Regions from separate parts of the Homo sapiens genome. Here all the other regions are linked to region 2. The links are contacts of gene promoters, found by promoter capture Hi-C in blood cells and fetal thymus (Javierre and others, 2016). All regions are on one chromosome and are shown on one strand. The core of a region is centred on a gene start or on the middle of the fragment in contact, and the rest is flanking DNA. Distances in the headings are between cores, read along the strand shown. Region 1 overlaps UST (uronyl 2-sulfotransferase). Region 2 holds the start of KATNA1 (katanin catalytic subunit A1). Region 3 overlaps UST (uronyl 2-sulfotransferase).

The links. The method cuts DNA at HindIII sites, captures the fragments that hold promoters and counts their contacts. A CHiCAGO score of 5 or more calls a contact.
Region 1: a fragment that was not itself captured here is called in contact with the fragment with the promoter of KATNA1 in region 2 in 1 of 17 cell types (activated CD4 T cells); the score reaches 5.6 in activated CD4 T cells.
Region 3: a fragment that was not itself captured here is called in contact with the fragment with the promoter of KATNA1 in region 2 in 1 of 17 cell types (activated CD4 T cells); the score reaches 10.3 in activated CD4 T cells.

The regions. Positions count from the first base shown.
Region 1 is chr6:148,987,761-148,990,836 of GRCh38, forward strand. The region is part of intron 5 of UST (uronyl 2-sulfotransferase); the gene reads left to right. Among named protein-coding and RNA genes, the nearest start is that of UST-AS1, 25 kb to the left of the region's middle. The HindIII fragment of the contact is 3,017 bases long and covers 1-2,798 here.
Region 2 is chr6:149,647,371-149,650,204 of GRCh38, forward strand. It overlaps KATNA1 (katanin catalytic subunit A1), which reads right to left and starts at 1,344. Exons shown (of 11, transcript NM_007044.4): 1 at 1,099-1,344. RefSeq lists an enhancer at 1,144-1,223 and a silencer at 1,294-1,563. The HindIII fragment of the contact is 10,327 bases long and covers 1-2,834 here.
Region 3 is chr6:149,004,368-149,007,603 of GRCh38, forward strand. The region is part of intron 5 of UST (uronyl 2-sulfotransferase); the gene reads left to right. Among named protein-coding and RNA genes, the nearest start is that of UST-AS2, 27 kb to the right of the region's middle. The HindIII fragment of the contact is 1,559 bases long and covers 1,187-2,745 here.

The DNA.
Region 1 (3,076 bases), core at 40-2,539, 660 kb before region 2:
TAGAATGAGAATTCCTACTGCCATGACACTAACACTGCAGTGACATCCGTAGCGCCAAAACTCTTGATCTTCTTCATCATGTGCTTTCATTCATCAGACGTGTATTCGTTCAGCCAAACAGACATGAGCATCTACTTTATGCCAAGCTCAGTGGTGAGGGCTACAGCTTCAAAAACAGAATATGGACTATGCTCTCGAGGAATTGTCTAAGGAGAGAGGCACACACAGCTAGGGTTCTAACATCAGAGCTTTATCTAGGAGCACCACCAGAGGTGTGGGGAGCTCGTGTCTGTGAGGCTTCCTGGAGGAGGTGTTACCTCAGTTGAGTCTTGCAGGATGAGTACAAGGTCCAAGCAGAGAGGGTGTAATTTGAAATAGCTTGATACAGAGGAGGAACTAAAGGCAGTGAAGGGTGCTGGGGTATAAAGTTTGAGGCAGGAGGTAGCAAGAACTGAAACTTGACATTGAACAGTTAGGCAGAGCCTGCATCATGCATCAATTACCTGGTTTACTCCCTTTATTCAAAAAACAGGCTGGGTGCGGTGGCTCATGCCTGTAAGTCCAGCACTTTGGGAGGTCAAAGCGGGTGAATCACTTGAGGCCAGGAGTTTGAGACCAGCCTGGCTAACATGACGAAACCCTGACTCTACTAAAAATACAAAAGGTAGCCCAGCATGGTGGCGTGTGCCTGTAGTCCCAGCTACTCAGGAGGCTGAGGCACAAGAATTGCTTGAACTTGGGAGGTGGAGGTTGCAGTTAGCCAAGATCACATTACTGGACTCCAGCCTGGGTGACAGAGAAAGACCCTGTCTCAAAAAAAAAAAAAAAAAAAAGCAAAAAACAACAATAGCAACACCTATAACCACAATTAACTTTCTTTCTTGTGTTCTCCGAAAGATTGGCAGGAAGGCAGATGAGGATGTTTCCCTGGTCTCTAATCTGAAGCTGTAGATTCCTACAACATGTAATACTGTCCCACCCTCCCCACCTCTTCCCAACCAAATGCCAATCCACTCCGCTTCATCATTTCCAAGTCCACCCTTCAAAGTAGACTTCGCCTATTCCCAAGGATGCAGTTCCATCTCTCCTTCTCCTCCTTGTCCTCTGCTCCTGTTAATTCACTGATCCACTGGGCAGAAACTCCAAGTCTGTCACTCTCTCCCACCCTTATTCCAATGCTCCTGTGCCAACAAGGAGTGACCCAAGCAGTGAGCTTTACAGCCAGCACCTGCTCCTTCTGGAATGGCCCTTCTCAGAAATGCAGGAACCTCAGCAGTCCTTCCTCAGCCAATAAGAATGAGATAATAGAGGTTCAAAGGCTTTGAAAACACAAGAGGCACATAATTCAGTGTTTTTGTTATTATCATTTGAGGCCTCTAGACTTCTGAAGAAGCTACTTCTGGTCTGTGAGAACTTCATGAAGGTGGAATTACTTGACTTCAGTAAAGGCCCCCCCCCACCCCCCGCAAATGAAAACCTTGATTAAAAAGTTTAAAAATTCAAAAGGAATGGTGAAGATAGGGAAGGACTGAGAATGAATTATTAAGAGGTTGGAAATTTCAGAGCCTTCCTTTTTGAAGAAGCTGGCTGAGTTCCAAAAGAAATCCAAGTCCTGAATTTCTATTACTTCTAACAAACTGCATTAGCATGTTACCAACACTTATAAACTGACTTAAAAGAAGACTAGGGCATTAAATTAAAAAGTAAGCCATGAGACTATTACCAAAATAAAAGGAAAGCAAGAGGGATTTGCCTTTGTCCTTGTTCAGAGAAACTGAAAACAAACTTGGATTGCATTAACAGAAGTATCTGTTCTACCAACTGCAAAAGTGCCAAAGGAGATCATATAGGTCCCCAACTCTGTCATGAGTCCTTCCAGGTGAACAGAGACCTTGTTAAATTAAGGCAATCACATTCAGCCTCCCAAGAAGGGAGCCTATAAAACTGAGAAGCCAAAGCTAATCCAGTCCTTTCCCATTCTAATTAAAGAGGCTGAAGGGCTTGTCTCACCTAACACTGTCTCATCTTCATGCCACTTCCTCAAATAAAGGAGTCAGTGAGAAGTTACCAATTCACATGGTAAATAACAAACTCTCCTGAGTTTTTTGGATAATCAAATGAGTTTTCCTTTGTTCATTCCATCCCTCCCCATTTGGAATTTAGATGGAAGAATGTCTAAGTCGATGAAAATCCAACTAAAGAAACATTGGCCTCTTTGTGGAGGAATCTCACATTTAAGTACAAAAAAAATTAAGCGTTTAGGGGAAGAAAGTTCAAAGACTTTTGCTTCCTTTGTTCTTTTAAATATTTTATTTGGAGTTCGGCATTACAGTCAGGACAACCTACAGTAAGAAAACCAGGCTTTCGTATAAAAGTTACTGAAAGGTGCTATACACCAACATACTTTTATATCTACCATATTTTTATATTCTTTATATCTTTCATTTTAAAATATTTATTTGGTGTGGCAGGTTTATGGTAGCTTTTTATCGTCCTCTTTTTGCTTGGCCATATTTTATATAATAAACAGGAACTGGTTTTATAATAGAAGTATTTGAAGACAAAGAATAAGATTTGATGCCATGAGATCTTTCTTTCTTTTAAATCCAAATAGTTAAGCAGATCAACCTATGAAGAGCGAGAAGCCAAAGGAGATGTTTCATGATAAGGTAACTAGATGGTATTTTTCCATTAGCTGCTTGACCTCTTTAACGTGACACCAGTGTGTTTTCCTGGATAAAATTACAATCCCAGATATTCAGACGTTCAGATTCATATTTTCCATCTTAGCCCACGAAAGCTTTACTTTGGGGATTTTGCAGAAAATTCTGGCTTGTGTTTCAGTCATTTGCCTTTTCTCTGTGGAAGCCAGCAGGAAACAGTAGCAGATCCTGACAATCCCCAGACGTCCCAGGGAAAGTGCAAAGAGGCTCGGCATTAATTGATTAAGAGGTTCTTTCAAAGCGCAACTTCTCTCTAAAACTACTCACTTTAAATCATGAGACTAGCTGCAAACTGCAATATTTATAAGAGACATAAATATTGAAGAACACAGTGACACTCTCCTAGGAGCAGG
Region 2 (2,834 bases), core at 94-2,593:
AATTTGCCGCGCGTAGTGGAGCGCGCCTGTAGTCACAGCTACTCAAGGAGGCTGAGGCAGGGGAATCGCTTGAACCCGGGAGGCGGAGGTTGCAGTGAGCCAAGATTGCGCCACTGCACTCCAGCCTGGCGACAGAGCAAGACTCCGTCTCAAAAAAAAAAAAAAAAAAAAAAAAAAGAACAAAACCCAGCTCTTTTGGAAAAGAAAATAGGGCTTTATACTGAGACATTTAAGCCCGTAAAAACATTTCAAGAATCTGTCTTAACATCTACTAAGGTGATTATCATTGTGATTACGTGACAAAGATCTACTGCACCCATTCTAAAACATCGGGAATGTTTTCAGCAATAACTAGAGGTCTAATTTCAAAGAGGAAGACGTAAATTAGTGCTTTCAAGAGAAAAGAGCATCACTGTGCTGTTGGAAGTTAGTAACTAATATAAAAGCGGCCCTTCGCGGTTTTAACAGGAAACTATTTTTGATTAAATAAGAGCTTGAGATTATCCACTGTAAGGCACTTCAGGATCTACGTTTATCTCTAACTTTGTCATCACATTTGTATGAAACAACTGTTTCGAGGGAAAACTTTTCTAAAAGGTACCAACTCTAAACCAAAAGGCCCACAGGCCTTCCAGAGGACGCCGGGCTCTAGAATAAATAAGAAATAACATCCCCAACAATATCACTCGAACCTAACAAATTTTAAGAAAAGAAGTTGCCTCCCAATGTCATGGCCATCGGGATTTTTACCTGTGAGGGTTTCGGGGTGGGGGGCGTGAGCGGGTTCTGGAGAGAACCAGTCGAAAAATCGAAGAACTAAAAACTCGGCTGGTGACTTCGCTAACGACACAGATCAAAAGATGGGATCGACAGGAGCCCCCGAAAAGTCCTCCGCCTGACAGGATTCCTCAGGTAGGGGGACTGTCACCTAAGCCAAGTTATCGTGGACAACAGCAAGGACCTAGGACCTCAGCTCAGGCACAGGCAGGCTCACGGAGGGTTGCGCGGCGGGTTCTCGCTGTGGGCCCCCCGAGTCCCTCACCAGCCCGGCCCTGGAAAATCGGGGGTCCCCAGAGCACCGCCAGAGTGAAAACTCACCTGCGGCGGCCCAAGCTCCTCGGGAAACCGCCCAACGCCAGGCACAGGGGATTGGCGGAGTGGAGATCCCGGCAGCGAGGAAGGAGGGCCTGACCCAGTCCAGCCCACTTTGCTCTCCGCTCACGGCCCCAGTACTGCCCAGTTCAATCGTCAACACCACCTGCCGGCGCGGCTCCTGCTCGCCGAGAATTTGAAGACAAACCCGCCAGGGTCACTTCCGGTGCCGGGGACGACCTCGGCGACTCTGGCGCACGCGGGGCGTCGCCCCGGGAGCGAGGTCGCTGGGCGGGAGCGGCGGAAGAGGGTGTGGCCGGGCCCGGGGCCGCGCGTGCGCATTCTTGCACCGCCTCCTCCCGGCGGACGCAGCGGAGACCAGGGATAGTATAGACCTTGGTGTAGATGGTATTATGGTACTACCTCGCGCGCCTCTGTACCTTGTTCAGGTGCTTGCTCACTTTCCCTCCCACTTGATTTTCACCACACTCACACACACACCGAGGTCAGGTGTCTATTTTAGAGGTGAATGTCCAGGATCAAGCAATTCGTTTATGACAAATCCTGTTTTAGAACCTAGTATTCAGAATTCCCCAGCTGGGCTCCATGTCATGACATAACAATAGGGAGGAGGTAAACAAAGATTCTCGGACACACTGCTAGTGGGATTTTATTTTCTTGATTTTTTAATCACCGTTTTAATATGACCAGACAAGGAAAATGATGCTATTTCATGACTTACAGATATGTACTGCACAGGGCTTCCTCCAGTCTCAATCTCCACCCTCTGCCATCACTTGAGGCAGAATAGGGCACTTCTCACACATTCCTTTAAAAACGCAAGGTAATTAAGTTTCTAACATTAAAGCATCCCGACTGGGCACAGTGGCTCATCCCTGTAATCCCAGCACTTTGGGAGGCTGAGGCGGGAGAATAGCTTGAGCCGGGAGTTCAAGACCAGCCTGGGCAATATAGTGAGACCCCCCGTCTCTACAAAAAGTACAAAAATTGGCTGGACATGGTGGCGCACGCCTGTAGTCACAACTACTCAGGAGGCTGACACAAGAGGATCACTTGAGCCCAGGAGTTGGAGGCTGCAGTGGGCCATGATGGCGCCATTGCACTCCAGTCTGGGAGACAAAGTGAGGCCCTATCTCTAAAAAAATAAAAGCACCCCAGTCATCTAACATAGACATGTAGAAGCAATTCAGGGGAAATACATCCATTCAGTCAACAAATGTTTACTCAGCAACTACTATGTGTGAGACAGTGTTGGCACTGGGTATACAGTGGTCACGAAATAGAATGTTTCATGGGGCTTAAAGTCTTGTAACGTCTCAACTGAGTGGAAAATGATAGTTTCACTGTAGTAAATATGAACTCTATTGTAATAGGGAACAGGAAACTATATTTAGTATATATTTTTGGAATCAAAACCAATTCAGGGAGGTACAGATTAATTACCCTAATTCAACCTTCATCCTTTATGTGAGTTCAAAGGTATGCTAATTTATAAAGCCAATTTACAGTTAAAAAACTTCTCAAAGGCCACAAAATTAATACATATTGTATGATTCCATTGATAAGAAATTCTAGGCCAGGCACGGTGGCTCATACCTGTAATCCCAGCACTTTGGGAGGCCGAGACGGGTGGGTCACTTGAGGTCAAGGCGTTTGAGACCAGCCTGGCCAACATGGTGAAACCCCGTCTCTACTAAAAATACAAATATTAGCTGGGTCTG
Region 3 (3,236 bases), core at 716-3,215, 640 kb before region 2:
AGATCAGACTTCCTGGACCTGCTTATATAGAGAAGTGGGGAGCAGTGTAAGAGCCGGATGTCCACACTGAGGCAGACAGAACAGAGAGTGGTAGTGGGCAAGTTGAAGCAGCAATGACATGATGAAGGGCCCATGGTGCCCCAGGAAGGGGCCCCAAATCCAGGAGTAGGTAACATAAAAGTTCACGCTAATAACCGGACCTGGTGACTGGCTTGATATTCACAAGCAAGACTCTATTCCACTGGAGGTAGTACCTAGTGAAAGCAAATCAGACCACACTCTTATAGAATCTAGATGAACCAGGAGTACTGAGCAAGCTTGTAAGACAGAGGCTCAGATACAGGCAGCAAAACATGGCTTCAGTTAAGAAATGGAGAACCAGGTGGGCCCGAATCTCAGAAACAAGGAAGAAGTACAATGGGCAGAACTAGGGCACAGGAATAGGGTCATGCTAGCTGATCACGTGCCTTTTGTGTGTGTGAGAGAGACAGAGTGTCACTCTGTTGCCCAGGCCGGAATGCAGTGGTGCGATCACAGCTCACTGCAGCCTTGACCTCCAGGGTCAAGTGATCCTCCCATTTCAACCTCCTGAGTAGCTGGGACTACAGTAGGCATGAACCACTATACCTCCAGCTGATTTTTTTTTTTTAACTTTTTTGTAGAGACAACTTTTTGTTGCCCAGGCTGGTGATCAGATGTCTTGAGTCTCAGCATGCTGGCCTAGAGCAATGATTCTCAGATCTAGAACCTTTGTATCAAATGAAGCCTTACAGAGAACCCAATATGTAAACCCAGGCGAAGCAGAGCTCTTCTGGCTTGGGTAGGGCAGGAGGTCTTGGAGCCCTGCCCATCCAGCACCTCCCCAACAGACCCTCTGTGTATGTTGACGTTTCCTTTTACTGGGAACTCCTTACATCCCTCTCTTCTGGGTCCAGGATCAGCCATAGAATTGGAGAGGGTTGAGCGGCCCTGGCTGTAGAGGAAAGAAGACTCCAGAAGCTGGAGAAGAATTCGGGATCTGACAGGAAGTTCAAGGTGACCTCTGGGAGCCTTCTGAGAAGAAAAAGGGCATGCAACCTCAGCAGTGTCTCTCTGCCTCTCACCAAATTGACAGTGGGCCCGAACTTTGCTCATTTAATGAGATAGAATTAGTAAAGTCTCCAGTGTACTTTTCATTCCTTCCACAAGCTTTTACCGAATAAAATGATTGGTACTCAGTAAAGGTTAGTCCCTTCCTTCTTCTCTCCCTCCCTCTCTCCACCACCATTAGACCTCATTTCTTAAAGGACTGATTTCCACTAAAATGCAAGTATTTCTTGGAAGCACATTGAGCTTGATAACTTATTTATTTATTCTTCTGTGTGCATTAATTTATGAACTCATTTCCACCAGACACCTAGCTGAGAGCCATGTTTGATGGATGGGAATCAGAGAAGAAAGCCAGAGAGAGCCCCAGATGACTGAGGGATGAAAGGCCCTCAAGAGACTGGGGAAAGGCAGTAATGACAAGGTTCACACTAACACAATCACACCCAGGACAGCGGCAGATTTGAAGAGGGAGCAGTGCAGACCTGAGGGTGGCTGAAGAGGGTTGCCTCAAGGAGGGTCCCCACTGTGGCCAAAGAGGTCCTTGTAACTAACTGAAAACAATTGGACAGGACCACCACCTGCAGTCCACTCACAGTGGGCGTTTCTTGCACTCATCCTATACCATATTTTATGAATTTTATTTTAAGTTCCAGGATACCTGTGCAGGACATGCAGTTTTGTTACATAGGGAAACATGTGCCATGGTGGTTTGCTGCACCCATCAACCCATCACCTAGGTATTAAGCCCAACATGCATTAGCTATTTATCTTGATGCTCTCCCTCCCCCAACCCCACTGACACGCCCCAGTATGTGTTCCCCTCCCTATGTCCATGTGTTCTCATTGTTCAGCTCCCACTTATAAGTGAGAACATGTAGTGTTTGGTTTTCTGTTCCTGTGTTAATTTGTTAGTTTGCTGTTAGGATAGTGGCTTCCAGCTTTATCCATGTCCCTGCAAAGGACATGATCTTGTTCCTTTTTATGGCTGTATAGTATTCCATGGTATATATGTACCATATTTTCTTTATCCAGTCTATCACCAATGGGCATTTGGGCTGATTCTGTGTCCTTGCTATTATGAATAGTGCTGCAGTGAACATTTGCATGCATATATCTTTATAGTAAAATGATTTATCTTCCTTTGAGTATATACCCAGTAATGGGATTGCTGGGTCAAATGGTATTTCTGGTTGTAGATCTTTGAGGAATCACCACACTGTCTTCCACAATGGTTGAACTAATTTACATTCCCACCAACAGTGCAAAATGTTCCTATTTCTCCACAGCCTCGCCAGCAACTGTTGTTTCTTGACTTTTTAATAATCGCCATTCTGACTGGTGTGAGATGGTATATCATTGTGGTTTTTATTTCTATGCCATAAATATTGAACTGATCTTCCATTTTGCATTTTTCCCACTTTCCATAACCACAGAGTCAACATCGTCTCTGTCTTGGTATGTTATGCTCATTTATTATCTTCTGTCTGTAGTTGACAGGTTTTTCTGAATGATTTTAGGAACTTCAAGTTCCAGTAGAGAGAATGAATGAATGACTTCTCTTAACTGGACTTCTATCACAAAATCATGGCTAACTTCATGCATTCAACTACTGTTTTTTAAACATTCCAAAAAGTGATCAAGACGTCATTCCAGGCAAGCTTTTTTTTTTTTTTTTTTTTTTGAGATGGAGTCTCACTCTGTTGCCCAGGCTGGAGTGCAGTGGTGTGGTCTTGGCTCACTGTAACCTCCACCTCCCAGGTTCAAGCGATTCTCCTGCCTCAGCCTCCTGAGTAGCTGGGATTACAGGTGCACACCACCACACCCGACCAATTTTTTTTTTTTTTTTTTTGAGATGGAGTCTCATTCTTTTGCCCAGGCTGGAGTGCAGTGGTGCAATCTCGGCTCACTGCAAGCTCTGCCTTCTGGGTTCACACCATTCTCCTGCCTCAGCCTCCTGAGTAGCTGGGACTACAGGCGCCCGCTACCACACCCAGCTAATTTTTTGTATTTTTTTTTTTTTTTTTTAGTAGAGACGGGGTTTCACCATGGTCTCGATCTCCTGACCTCATGATCCGCCCGTCTCGGCCTCCCAAAGTGCTGGGATTACAGGCGTGAGCCACCGCGCCTGGCCTTTTTTTTGTATTTTT